2 separate regions of the Homo sapiens genome follow, and region 2 is linked to region 1. Evidence: promoter capture Hi-C in 16 types of primary human blood cells and fetal thymus (Javierre and others, 2016). All regions are on one chromosome and are shown on one strand. Each heading gives the region's core, a stretch centred on a gene start or on the middle of the fragment in contact. The rest is flanking DNA. Distances are from core to core; before and after follow the strand shown. Region 1 holds the start of PCSK5 (proprotein convertase subtilisin/kexin type 5). Region 2 has its middle 180 kb from the start of OSTF1.

Evidence for each region. The method cuts DNA at HindIII sites, captures the fragments that hold promoters and counts their contacts. A CHiCAGO score of 5 or more calls a contact.
Region 2: a contact is called between a fragment that was not itself captured here and the fragment with the promoter of PCSK5 in region 1, in 1 of 17 cell types (M1 macrophages). The highest score is 5.8, in M1 macrophages.

The regions. Positions count from the first base shown.
Region 1 is chr9:75,887,344-75,893,713 of GRCh38, forward strand. PCSK5 (proprotein convertase subtilisin/kexin type 5) reads left to right here and starts at 3,330. Exons shown (of 38, transcript NM_001372043.1): 1 at 3,330-4,030. The coding sequence starts at 3,839. The HindIII fragment of the contact is 12,342 bases long and covers 62-6,370 here.
Region 2 is chr9:75,261,153-75,267,522 of GRCh38, forward strand. No RefSeq gene overlaps it. Among named protein-coding and RNA genes, the nearest start is that of OSTF1, 180 kb to the left of the region's middle. The HindIII fragment of the contact is 5,169 bases long and covers 181-5,349 here.

The DNA of each region.
Region 1 (6,370 bases), core at 2,080-4,579:
CAGAGCATAAGGTCATGAAATATGACAGATTCTTTGCTGTTGCTATTGGTGCTTATCTGCAAGCTTCCTTCTTGGCCAACAAGGCTCTATCCAAGGAAGCTAATGAGATCGTTAAAGTAGATCCCAAAGGAGGAAGCAGAATATGTCTATTCATCAATGGAAGTGGGACTTCTTTGATATCATTTAGGTTTAAGAATCACACTTTTTGAGAATGGACTTATAATGGAACTGTGATATAACTGCAAAAGCTATGGATAGTAAGAGGAATGAGTCTACATCCATACATTTGATTTAACAGATGAATGAGGGTTCAACTCATTTTTTAAAAAAAAAACAGGGCTAGGTTTTTCCCTTTAAAATATATATGCATTGAAATGAAAGAATATGCCCTTTGAGTAAGTTTAAATGCTGGCCCAGGGATTAGTTTACAAAGCAGAAAAGTGGTTTGCCCACTTCCTACCTCATTTTCCAATTTTCTCTCATGTTCAATGCAGTGAATGTTACATTTGTGTGTGCCAACCAGGGCATGCTCACAGAAGGAAAGAGTGCTAGTGGAAAGAAAAAGAGAAAGACACCATGGAGAAAAAAATATTAATGATCAATTTTTCCACCCCAAGAAAAAAATCTCCAGGCTCCAGAAAACCGGGTGCAGTGATTCCTCTCCATTTCATTCAGAATTTGAAGCCCAGAGACAACAAGGCTTTGAAAGAGAAGCATTTTGTGCTGCCTTTGTAGTCCTAAACAATTAACAGCTCCAGAGTCCCAGAGAGAAACCCGTACGGCATCCTTCAAACTTGTTACAAAGTACCTTATGTAGTGGCAACCCTTCTGTGGATCACGGTGAGACAGGTCCTTCCTCCTACCTGAAATGCCCACAATTCTGAATTAAAAAAAAAAAAAGAGAGATTGACTGTCCCTTATATGTGTATTGAGATGTGGACCTTGACTGAAGTCTTATCCCATCTGAAATTTACCATCTTCAAGAGGGGTAATCCAATGTCCCTATGCATAGATGCAGATTGTCAGAGTTAACAGTGTTGTAATAGATTGTGAGCTTTCGGACTCCATGGCTAGGGAAGCAGGAAGAGATGTGTCTACAGGGACTGGCTAGCAGGGAGACTGTACCAAAACTCTAAAGCACAAGCATAGTGCTTATGTTTTCCTCTTAAAAATAATAATAATAGGGCCGGGAGCGGTGGCTCACGCCTGTAATCCTAGAACTTTGGGAGGCCGAGGCGGGCGGATCACAAGGTCAGGAGATCGAGACCATCCTGGCTAACACAGTGAAACCCCGTCTCTACTGAAAATACAAAAAAATTAGCCAGGCCTGGTGGCGGGCGCCTGTAGTCCCAGCTGCTCGGGAGGCTGAGGCAGGAGAATGGCGTGAACCCGGGAGGCGGAGCTTGCGGTGAGCCGAGATCGCGCCACTGCACTCCAGCCTGGGCAACAGAGCGACACTCCGTCTCAAAAAAATAAATAAATAAATAATAATAATAATAATAATAATAATAGGACGGGCATGGTGGATCATGCCTGTAATCCCAGCACTTTGCGAGGCCAAGGCAGGCAGAGCATTTGAGATCAGGAGTTCGAGACCAGCCAACCCTGTCTCTACTAAAAATACAAAAATTAGCCAGCCTGTAATCCCAGCTACTCGGGGAGGCTGAGGCAGGAGAATCGCTTGAATCCGGGAGGCGAAGGCTGCAGTGAGCCAAGATCACACCACTGCACTCCAGCCTGGGCGACAGAGCGAGACTCTGTCTCAAAAATACATACATACATACATACATACATACATACATACATACATACATACATACCTTCAATAATAAACCACATTTACTCTACAGTATTCAGAGATTCTGAATTCCACTAATTTTTTGTGCCTCCCCCTTCCCCTTTCTCCAGTGTACAGCACAATTCATTGCACATGCTAGGTGCTCAAAACAGATGTGTTGAATCAGTCAAATAAATAAACGAATAAAATACATACACTTCTGCACATGTTTTAGTTCTTCTGATCTTCTATTTCTTCAGCTATAATGTGGGGATGATGTTATTTTGTGGGTTTGTTTTCAAGATTAAATAATATAGCATACCTTATACAATATGTAAAATGTCAAATGCTATGCTCAAAGGTACTAGTGGAATTTTAAGTCTGCAGGTATCTTTCAGATTTTAAAAAATCAGTACCAAAAGCTATAGGTGGGATGAGTTAATTAATCTCAAACACATTTAAATTAACAGGAAGAAAGAAATAGGGCATGGTAGGAGGAGAGAAAGGAGGACAGTTAGGGATATAGTGAATACTTTTAAAGTCAGTTGAATTATTTCATACGGGATAATTTTTCTTGTCACAGTAAATCACCCTGTGCCCCACCCCCGCTCCAGGAAGGCAGGGAGGTTGTAAAGGAGAAGCGAGAAGAGGGTTAATTTGAGCTCCCTCCTGCCTGCTGCAGTCACAGTGCATGATAGAGTAATGAAGGTGACGCCGCCACATATCTCATCTGAACTTCCTCTGTGGTCTTTTTCATATTAAAGTCTTTCACTGTTACAGGACTGTGCTTGGAAAAGTTGGGAAACTTTTCCCTTGGTGGAGAAAAAGAAGCCCTCGTCAGACGCAATCCAACAAATGAATGGAGTTATTTCCTTGGCCCAACATGTCCATCCACTAGCACACCAAATATTCATAGAAACATCTTTCCTCACTTCCAAGGCCGGAATTGTACTCTCCCGTGGCGTTGCCTAGTATCGCAGATTTCGAAAGTGAGCAGGCAACAGACTTGGCTTTCGAGCCAATTCTAGGAGTCGATGCGACTTACTGTCCTGTGTGGTAGCTTCTCCCGGGAGCAGAAAGTGTAAAATAAACAGCTGCTGAAAAGCATGAAGAATTAACGAAGTGAAAATCTCGAGTTATTTGTTCGGCAATTGACACGTAAGTGACCTCCTTAAATGCCTAGTTATTTAAGGACGTTTAGAACGAGGATGAATGAATCTTCAGGGCGGTTAATTCGCACCGGCGTGTAAATTTCTTTAGTCTTTCGGGAAGTGGCGGTAAATTCATACAAATCCAGCAGGGAGGGAAGAGAAGGGAGTAAAACCACGATCTCGGAGCGCTCTTCTCAGTCCTTTGGAAAGACTTGCCTTTACTGCCCGGAACCCTGGAGGTTACAGCTGGGCGAACCCGGAGGCGCTAGGACCTCGTCAGCGCCTGGCTGCGGCCGCTTTCAAGAGGGCGGAGGAGGGAGAGGAGGAGGGCGATGTGGGAAAGGAGGGGTGTTAAGGGGGGCGGGGGAAGTCATTTATGCAGAGCAGGAGCTGCTGCCATTGCCACTCAGAATCCTCGCGCGCTGCTCGGAGCCGGAGGGAGCGCTGGGAGCGAGCAAGCGAGCGTTTGGAGCCCGGGCCAGCAGAGGGGGCGCCCGGTCGCTGCCTGTACCGCTCCCGCTGGTCATCTCCGCCGCGCTCGGGGGCCCCGGGAGGAGCGAGACCGAGTCGGAGAGTCCGGGAGCCAAGCCGGGCGAAACCCAACTGCGGAGGACGCCCGCCCCACTCAGCCTCCTCCTGCGTCCGAGCCGGGGAGCATCGCCGAGCGCCCCACGGGCCGGAGAGCTGGGAGCACAGGTCCCGGCAGCCCCAGGGATGGTCTAGGAGCCGGCGTAAGGCTCGCTGCTCTGCTCCCTGCCGGGGCTAGCCGCCTCCTGCCGATCGCCCGGGGCTGCGAGCTGCGGCGGCCCGGGGCTGCTCGCCGGGCGGCGCAGGCCGGAGAAGTTAGTTGTGCGCGCCCTTAGTGCGCGGAACCAGCCAGCGAGCGAGGGAGCAGCGAGGCGCCGGGACCATGGGCTGGGGGAGCCGCTGCTGCTGCCCGGGACGTTTGGACCTGCTGTGCGTGCTGGCGCTGCTCGGGGGCTGCCTGCTCCCCGTGTGTCGGACGCGCGTCTACACCAACCACTGGGCAGTCAAAATCGCCGGGGGCTTCCCGGAGGCCAACCGTATCGCCAGCAAGTACGGATTCATCAACATAGGACAGGTAACGAACTACAGGCTAGCCCAGCCCTCGGCCCTGAAGCCACTGGGGGCTTCTTGTCCCCTCTGCGTGGAACCCCCTCCCCCTCTTCCAGATGTGCTCTAGCAGCTGTTGCCCTAACTCTTGGGCGATGCTCTGTCTCCTGCGCGCGCGCGCGTACGCACACACACACACACACACACACACACACACACCCCAGAGTTGCCGGGTCCGTGTTTTGTTTACTTGTCTTTTCCAAGCCACGCGGGACTGGTAGGGTCTCGGGAAAAATCCAGAGTGCCCCCGTGGTGGCTTCAGAGACGGCTGGACCTTTTGACCTGAAAAGTCGAGTAGCACTAGTAATCTGAGGCAGTCTCAGAGAGGGTGATCGTGGGGAGAGGGGGAAATTAGGTCTTTTGGGGGATAGGGGGTGAGCGCGCCTCTGATGCCTGCGGGGAAGGGAAAGCCTTTCCTGCTCGGACCTGAATTTAGCCCAGAAAGAAGTTTCCTCTTGGGCGAGAGAACCTCTGGCGCTGGAGACTCCGGAGGCGCGGGGACTGGAGCTGGAAGGGAGGAGAAAGGAGGGGGAGGGAAGAGGGGGCCGGCCCCGGTGTGAGTGCAGATTTAGGGGAGACCTCTAGGCTTTCTCGCCTTAAGCGAGGTCCGCGTGGGGGCTCCCGGAAGGGAGTTGTAGTGGGGAGGTGGGAAACTTCCGAAACCGGCTGGCTGGGTTCCGCTCCGGGAAAACGAGGAGTCTTACCCCGGGACGGAAGGTGCCGGGCCGGGAGGTTGCGCCGTGGGGCGAGAGTTGGGCAGGCAGCAGGGGCGCGGGGTTTTTGTGGGGTGCCGCTCTCGGGCTTTTGGCAGAGCTCTCCTGCTAGGGAGAAATGCCCATAAACTAAGGTGATGCTATGAGGATGATTGGAAGCGTAACAGATTTGGAAGTACTCCGGGTTCAGTGGTCTTGGCTTTCTGGTTCTCTTCCCCCGACACCCCTGCGAGAAATGGGGGTAGAGAGGGCTATGAAAGTGGGTCCCAGAAAGTACCCCCCTCCACATACACACCGCAAGCATCTTTGGGGTTGGCCGGAGGGGCGGGCCCTGGCTGGGCTCAGGCGAGAATCCGCTGGAATGGGAGGTGAGGATGATGGATGGCGCCTTTCCAGCAGGCGCGCTTTGGGGACTGCCCGGGGTGCACGCACCCTGCGTGCTCTGCCAGGGGGAAGGGAGAGGGAGGTGCTGGCTGGTGCCGGCGGAGTGGGAGAGTACGGACAGTTTCTGAGGCCATTGCGTTCCACGCCCAGGAACCCGGGGACACCCCCCGCCCCTCCTCCCCGCCGCCTGGGGGATGCGGCACCTGGAGAGGAGGCAGAGCTGCTGTCGCCGCGTTTAGAAGGAGCTGGGGAGTGCGGGGAGTGTTCAGAGGAGCAAGAGCACAAGATCTTGCTCTTTGCCCGCCCAGAGGGAGGACATATTCCAGAGAAGCCAGCCCTGTGGAGAACTGAGACTAGGGCAAGGGGCACGGTTTGTATTCCCTCCTGCCCCTGGAACTAAGGAAGTAAGGGAAGCCAGCCAGATTTTGTTGCTTGAGTGACTGTTATCTGCGGAAGATTTCCATTCTAAAGGCTCGTTGGGATTCTACTGGCTTCTTTTTCTCTGGAAGAAAACACTGAGTCCGTTCAGGTCTTTTTACATGAACTTAAAGTTGGGCACTGCCTATGCCCTGGGAATGGAACTGGGGAGGCTAGCACTGAAAGTAGCTAGTACTATTAATCTTTCCAGAGATTCATCTCGGGTTCTGCTAACATTGAACATCTCACACATGACCAGGCATTTTTGGAGGAATAAATTCTTGAACATACCCTTCTTTCTTAATCTCAAAACAACCTTGTTTGGTGAATATTACCTCACACACAGGAGATGAGGAAACCGAGACCAGCTAGACAGTGGCAAAGCAGTGATTCAGACCTGCTACTCTGACTGTTGCAGGCCCAGTCCCCCATGGATCCTGCCTTTTAGGGAACCCTTCCATGCCATGATGAAGGAGGAAGGAAGTAAAATCTCCATTTCCTTGAATTCTGATTTAATGGCTCAGTAGGCTGGAAGCAAATATCTGGTCTCAGTTCACAGATATTTAGTTCAAACGCACCTAGCTTTCTTGACTTTAACAAGGGCAGAAACAGCTGTTACCTTTCTGAATTAATTGAGCAGAACTGGTATATGACAGAATCTGGCATAGCGAGATGGGAGAAATTGTCACCAAATCCACTTTTGAACAAGCAAACATTGCAATGTCCTGCAACCTCTGCTTGACTATTTACAAAAGGCCTTATAGTGAAGATTCATGGCTTCTCATTAAAAATAA
Region 2 (6,370 bases), core at 1,515-4,014, 630 kb before region 1:
CTTTTTTGTTGATGTTGATGTTATTGATTTCTGTTTGTTTGTTTTCCTTCTAACAGTCAGGCCCATCTTCTGCAGGTCTCCTGGAGTTTGAGTGGAAGTCCACTCCAGACCCTGTTTGCCTGGGTATCACCAGAGGAGGCTGCAGAACAGCAAAGATTGCTACCTGCTCTTTCCTATGAAAGCTTGGTCTCAGAGGGGTACCTGCCTGACGCTAGCCAGAGCTCTCCTGTATGAGGTGTCTGTCAACCTTTTCTGGGAGGTGTCTCCCACTCAGGAGGCACAGGGGTCAGGGACCCACTTGAGGAGGCAGTGCGTCCCTTAGCTGAGCTCGAGCGCTGTGCTGGGAGATCTGCTGCTCTCTTCAGAGCCAGCAGGCAGGAATGTTTAAGTTTGCTGAAGCTACACCCACAGTTTTGTCTTCCTCCAGGTGCTCTGGGAGATGGGAGTTTTATCTGTAAGCCCCTGACTGGGGCTGCTGCCTTTCAGGGATGCCCTTCCCAGTGAGAAGGAATCTAGAGAGGCAGTCTGGCCACAGCCATTTTGTTGCACTGCAGTGAGTTCTGCCCAGTCCAAACTTTCCAACAGCTCCCTTAATACTGTGAGGGGAAAACCACCTACTTAAAGCTCAGTAATGTGGACACCCCTCCCCTACACCAAGCTCTATTGTTCCAGGTCGACTTCAGACTGCTGTGCTGGCAGCAAGAGTTTCAAGCCAGCGGTTCTTCACTTGCTGGGCTCCTTGGGAGTGGGACCCACTGAGCAAGACCACTTGGCCCCCTGGCTTCAGCCCCCTTTCCAGGGAAGTGAACGGTTCTGTCTCACTGGGGTTCCAGGTGGCACTGGGATATGAAAAAAACTCCTGCAGCTAGCTCAGTGTCTGCCCAAACAGCCACCTTGTTTTGTACTTGAAACCCAGGGCCTGGGTAATGTCAGCACGTGAGGGAATCTCCTGGTCTGCAGATTGCAAAAACTGTGGGAAAATCATAGTATCTGGGCTGGATGGCACAGTCCCTCATGGCTTCCCTTGGCTAGGGGAGAGAGTTTCCCGGCCTGTTAAACACTTCCTGGGTGAGGTGATGCCCCATCCTGCTTCTGCTCACCTTCCGTGTGCTGTACCCATGGTCTAACCAGTCCCAATGAGATGAACCGGGTACCTCAGTTGGAAATGCAGAAATCACCAGCCTTCTGTGTTGATCTCGCTGGGATCTGCAGACCGGAGCTGTTCCTATTCAGCCAGCCATCTTCCCAGATCCAGTCAGATTTGCTCTTTTGTGGCTATTTTCTAGTTTCTGTAGGTTGCTTTATTATTTTCTATTCTTTTTTCTTTTGTCTTCTCTGACTGTATTTTCAAACAGCCTGTCTTCAAGCTCATTAATTCTTTCTTCTGTTTGATCAATTCTGCTATTGAAAGACTGTTGCATTCTTCACTATGTCCATTGTGTTTTTCAGCTCCAGAATTTGTTTGATTCTTTTAAATTATTTCAATCTCTTTGTTAAATTTATCAGGTAGAATTCTGAACTCCTTCCTTGTGTTATTTTGAATTTCTTTGAGTTTCCTTAATAGAGCTATTTTAAATTCCCTGTCTAGGTCACATATCTGTTTCTCCTGGATTGGTCCCTGGTGCCTTATTTACTTCATTTGGTGAGGTCATGTTTTCTTGGATAGTGTTGATGCTAGTAGATGTTCTTCAGTGTCTGGGCATTGAAAGGGTTAGGTGTTTAGTTTAGCCTTTGCTGTCTGAGCTTATTTGTAGCTGTCCTCCCTGGGAAGGCTTTCTAGATATTTGACAGGACTTGGGTGCTGTGATTTAAGATGTATCTGCTTTTGGCGGCATCCCAAGTCAAATAATGCTGTGATTCTTGCAGACTTAGACTTACAGAGGTACTGCCTTGATGGTCTTGGACAAGATCTGGGGGAGTTCTCTGGATTACCAGTCAGAGACCCTTGTTCTTTTCTCTTACTTTCTCCTAAAAATATAGTCTCTTTCTTTGTTATCAGTCACCTAAAGCTGAGTGACACAAGCACCCCTGTGGCCACCACCACTATGACTGCACTGGGTCAGACCTGAAGCCAGCACAGCACTGTGTCTCAGAAAGGCCTGCTGTAACCAGTCCCTGACCCAAGGCCTGCTGTAACCAGTCCCTGGCTACTGCCTATGTTCGCTGAAGGGCCTAGGGTTCTATAATTAGCAGGTGGCAAATCCATCCAGGCCTATGTCCTTCCCTTTAGGGAGAGGTCCCCCAAGCCCTAGGTGGGCCCAGAAGTTCTGTTTGGGAGTGGGGTACTAGAGTCAAAAGCCTTCATCTACCTGATATTCTATTGCAGTGTGGCTAAGCTGTCACTTATGCCACAAGATGGAAGCAGAGGAGCCTCACCCTGTAGCTACTACCAACCGAGGCCATGGTGAGTACTGCCAGACTAACACTCATCTTCCCTTAAGGCCCACAGTCTCTAAAGTCAGCTTGTCATGAAGGCTACCTGGCCTGGGACTCACCCTTCAGGGCAGTGGGTTCCTCTCTGGCCCAGGTTAGGTCCAGAAATGCCATCCAAGAGTCACATCCTGGAATCAGGGATCCCAAGAACCCTCTTGGTGCTCTAGTCCCCTGTGGTGATGGTGGTACCTATGGTGCAATACAAAGTCCCTTTTACTTTTCCTTCTGCTTTTCTCAAGCAGAAGTTTTGTCCCATAGCCACAGCAGCTGGCTATGTACTGAGTCTCACCTGAAGCCAACAAGTCTCAGAGGCTCACCCAAGGCCTTCTACGTAGTACCTGTGTATTACTACTGGTTATTTAAGGTCCAAGGGCTCTTTGGTTAGCAGGTGATGAATGCTGGCAGGACTGGGTCCTTTCCTTCAAGGCAGTGGGTTCCCTTCTGGCCCAGGGTGTGTCTAGAAATGTCATCTGTGAGCTAGGCCCTCGAATGGGGGCCTCATGACTCTGACTGGTATCCTATTTTGCTGTGGCTGAGCTGGTATCATAGATGTAAGACAACATCCTTCCTACTCTTCCCACTCCTCTCCTTAAGTGGAAGGAAGGGGTCTCTTTTGGAGTTGTGAGTTGTAGCCTGGGGTTAGAGGAGGTATGATGCGAGCACTCCCTTGGCTGCCACAGCTGGTGTCCACTATCTCTGGGCTTAGTTCAGCCCTAGGACTCGCCTAAGAGTTGTAGTCCTTATGGCCTAGATTGCCTTTCAAGTTTACTTGGAGACAGAGTGCTATAGCCCTTGGAGGCAAGGTTTGGAGGCACTCAAGCTCAGACTTCTGGGATTGGTGATTCCCCTCTGGCTAAGCCTGGCTTAAATGTTCCCTCTGTGGGTGGGTGTCAGCTGAGTTTGGTCTGGTTTTCCTTTCTGCTCTGACAGGACAGCAGTGAGTTCAGTGCATCACAATTGCTGTATTCTCCCTCCCCCAGCACCCAGAGAATCCCTCCATACCATGCCACCAAGGCAGGGAGTGAGGAAGGGGTCACAACGGTGATTCAGGACTGTTTTTAGTCTCTTCAGTGCTTCTTTCAGTGATATAAAGTTAAAAGGAGGTACTATGAGTGCTTACTTGATTTTTGGTTCTTATGAATAGGTGTTTTTTCTGTATAGATAATTGTTAACTTGGTGTCCTTGTGAAGGGCATGATTGGTAGATCTTTCTATTCCGCCATTTTGCTCTGCCCTCTCTCAACAACTTTCTTACCAGGTGGCATTTTGTATTGAAGATAGCCTTAAACCAAATTCTACCAAACCTTCCCATTTTTAATGAGTAAAGATACATTAAAACAGTTATACTACCTACCTATTCTTGTAAGCCCAGAAAGTGCCTTATTCTCCGACTTTTGGCATTTCTCTAAGCATCTTGAATGAGAGGCTTCCTGTGAGCCAATGCAACACCATTCTGGTGAGTAGATGTGAACTTCTTATTTGGGTAAATTGATAGTCTTCTGCAGTGTGAAAGGGACATAGGACCAAATACAGCCCTGGATTGTCCCAAGATATTAAGACACTGGGATTGCTGATTTTATTCTCCTGTTTTAAGAAAGGTTAGTGCGGCCCCAAGTATCTTTCTAACCCATGATATATCCTGAATTTTACTTATTTCCATTTATTTCACCAGAGAAAAATGATTTCTAATATTCTTTATGCTAAGAAACCCTCTGGTGTTTTTGGTAAGCATCTTTGAAGTTCTTACTAAAATACTTTGGAGGCTGGAATTCCTGATAAGTGAATTTCAGCTGCTAACCAGATGCCTTTTGATTTTATACAGTCTGCACTGAGCAATTTTGAGATAAATGACCACATAGCAAGTATTAGTACATGAACATTTCCTGTCTATCTAGTAGTCATTGGCATCAAAGTTTAGAAGTACCTAATCAATCTGTATAAAGTCTTTAATTAAAGGTGGGATAGTAGTAGATTGTCCAACTGAGGATGTGTTTTTAGATACATTTAAAATCTGAAAGAATAATATTGGGGAAATCGTAATTGCATTACGCATCTCTAGCATTCTCACTTCTACCACAAGGGGGCAGCATTAGCCCCAATTGAAGCCCAGTGTTGACAGCTATAATCTTAGAGTCTCTCCTAGTCATTGGTGTTGCTAAAAAGGATTAAAAAAAGCCATCACATTAAACTGAGCACCTAAATGGGTAGGTGCAGAGTTGGGCTTGAAGCTATTTGGCAGCAGGGGTAGCAAAGAGCTGGTCTGTTCTCTGAGTGGAAAGACCTGGGAATTGGGAGTGGGTGGGGTCTGAGGAGTGATTTGAGGCAGGTGGGGAACAGCCATCAGCCACATAAGACAGCGAAGTCACCTGAGGTGACAAAATAAGTGAGGAATCTCTGGCCTCAGGATAACAAAGGACTTGAAAAACAGGGATGTCTAATAGGGATTTTCTGTTTGTGTGATGCAGAATAGAATGCTTTCTTGCTGAGGGTCTTATGTGTTTCGATGCTTTGGAATTGTTGAAGTTAAAATTCAGCAGAGTCATGAAATTGGGGCCAGAGGTGACTTTGGGAATGTGAATCTCCTAGGAATTTATACAAATATTAGTAAAGGCAGTGGCCCTTCTATAGTATGGGGCCTGGTGATTTGAGAAAATCTTGTTTACATTTTAAGTTGCACAGTGACCCCACTCTCAGGCTAAAATCAGTGATTTATTTCAATAAATGTTTCTGGAGGAACTAATATTTGCTTAGCTAGGTGCTGTAGGGAGACAACACATTTCTAATTTAAATGTTTGTGCCAATGACTGTTATATTTGAAGCAACTGCACTGTCCAATTCAGAATATCCCAAGAGGGATGGACCTAGTGCCATAGTTGTCAGCTTTGTCTACGTGTTAGAATCACTTGGAGTTATTTAAAGCTTTTAAAGACACACAAACACACACATATTCCTAACCCAACATTATTTGTGTTCTCCATCTTTTTTTTTCCAATTCCAGATGGGAATCAAAGAAACCTGTTTCTTTTATAAAAATTATTATTATTTTTTAGATGGAGCTTTGCTCTTGTTGCTCAGGCTCAGTGCAATGGTGTGGTCTCTGCTCACAGCAACCTCTGCCTCCCGGGTTCAAATGATTCTCCTGCCTCAGCCTCGCAAGTAGCTGGGATTACAGGTGCCTGCCACCACGCCCAGCTACTTTTTGTATTTTTAGTAGAGACAGGGTTTCACCACGTTGGCCAGGCTGGTCTCAAACTCCTGACCTCAGGTGATTCACCTGCCACAACCTCCCAAAGTGCTAGGATTACAGGTGTGAACCACTGCGCCCAGCCTAAATTTCTTCTTAATACTCCTGTTCTTCAGTGATGCACAATTTCTAAAATGTCCCATTCTCTTTTTTAGCTTCCACAGTGGTGTAACAAGGCAATGGGAATTCACTCCACAAATCCCAGTACCACAAGAAGTTATCTGTAAGGTCTCCAGGGATGAGATAATCTACATATTTCCTCATGTCTGTTATAATGGCATTCTAGCCCAACATAATCATGTCCATCTCTTGGAATGCATTGTGTAGACTTTAACTTATATGGTTCTGCTCTACTAATGAAGTCAGTCTCTTTAAAAAATGTTCAGAGAAACTAATAAAGGATTATAAGCAACAAAAGGATACGGCCTAAGCCAAGTCAAGCCATTCTTGCTATCAATTCTGGAACAAATATATTAATGATATTCCTGTGTCTCTAATTTTATATAACAAACAGACAATCATTCTTCCATCATTTCTATTTCCTTTTTTTTTTTTTTTTTTTTTTGAGATGAAGTCTTGTTCTGTTGCCCAGGCTGGAGTGCAGTGGCATGATCTCGGCTCACTGCCACCTCCACTTCCTGAGTTCAAGTGATTCTTCTGCCTCAGCCTCCCGAGTAGCTGGGACTAGTGCCGC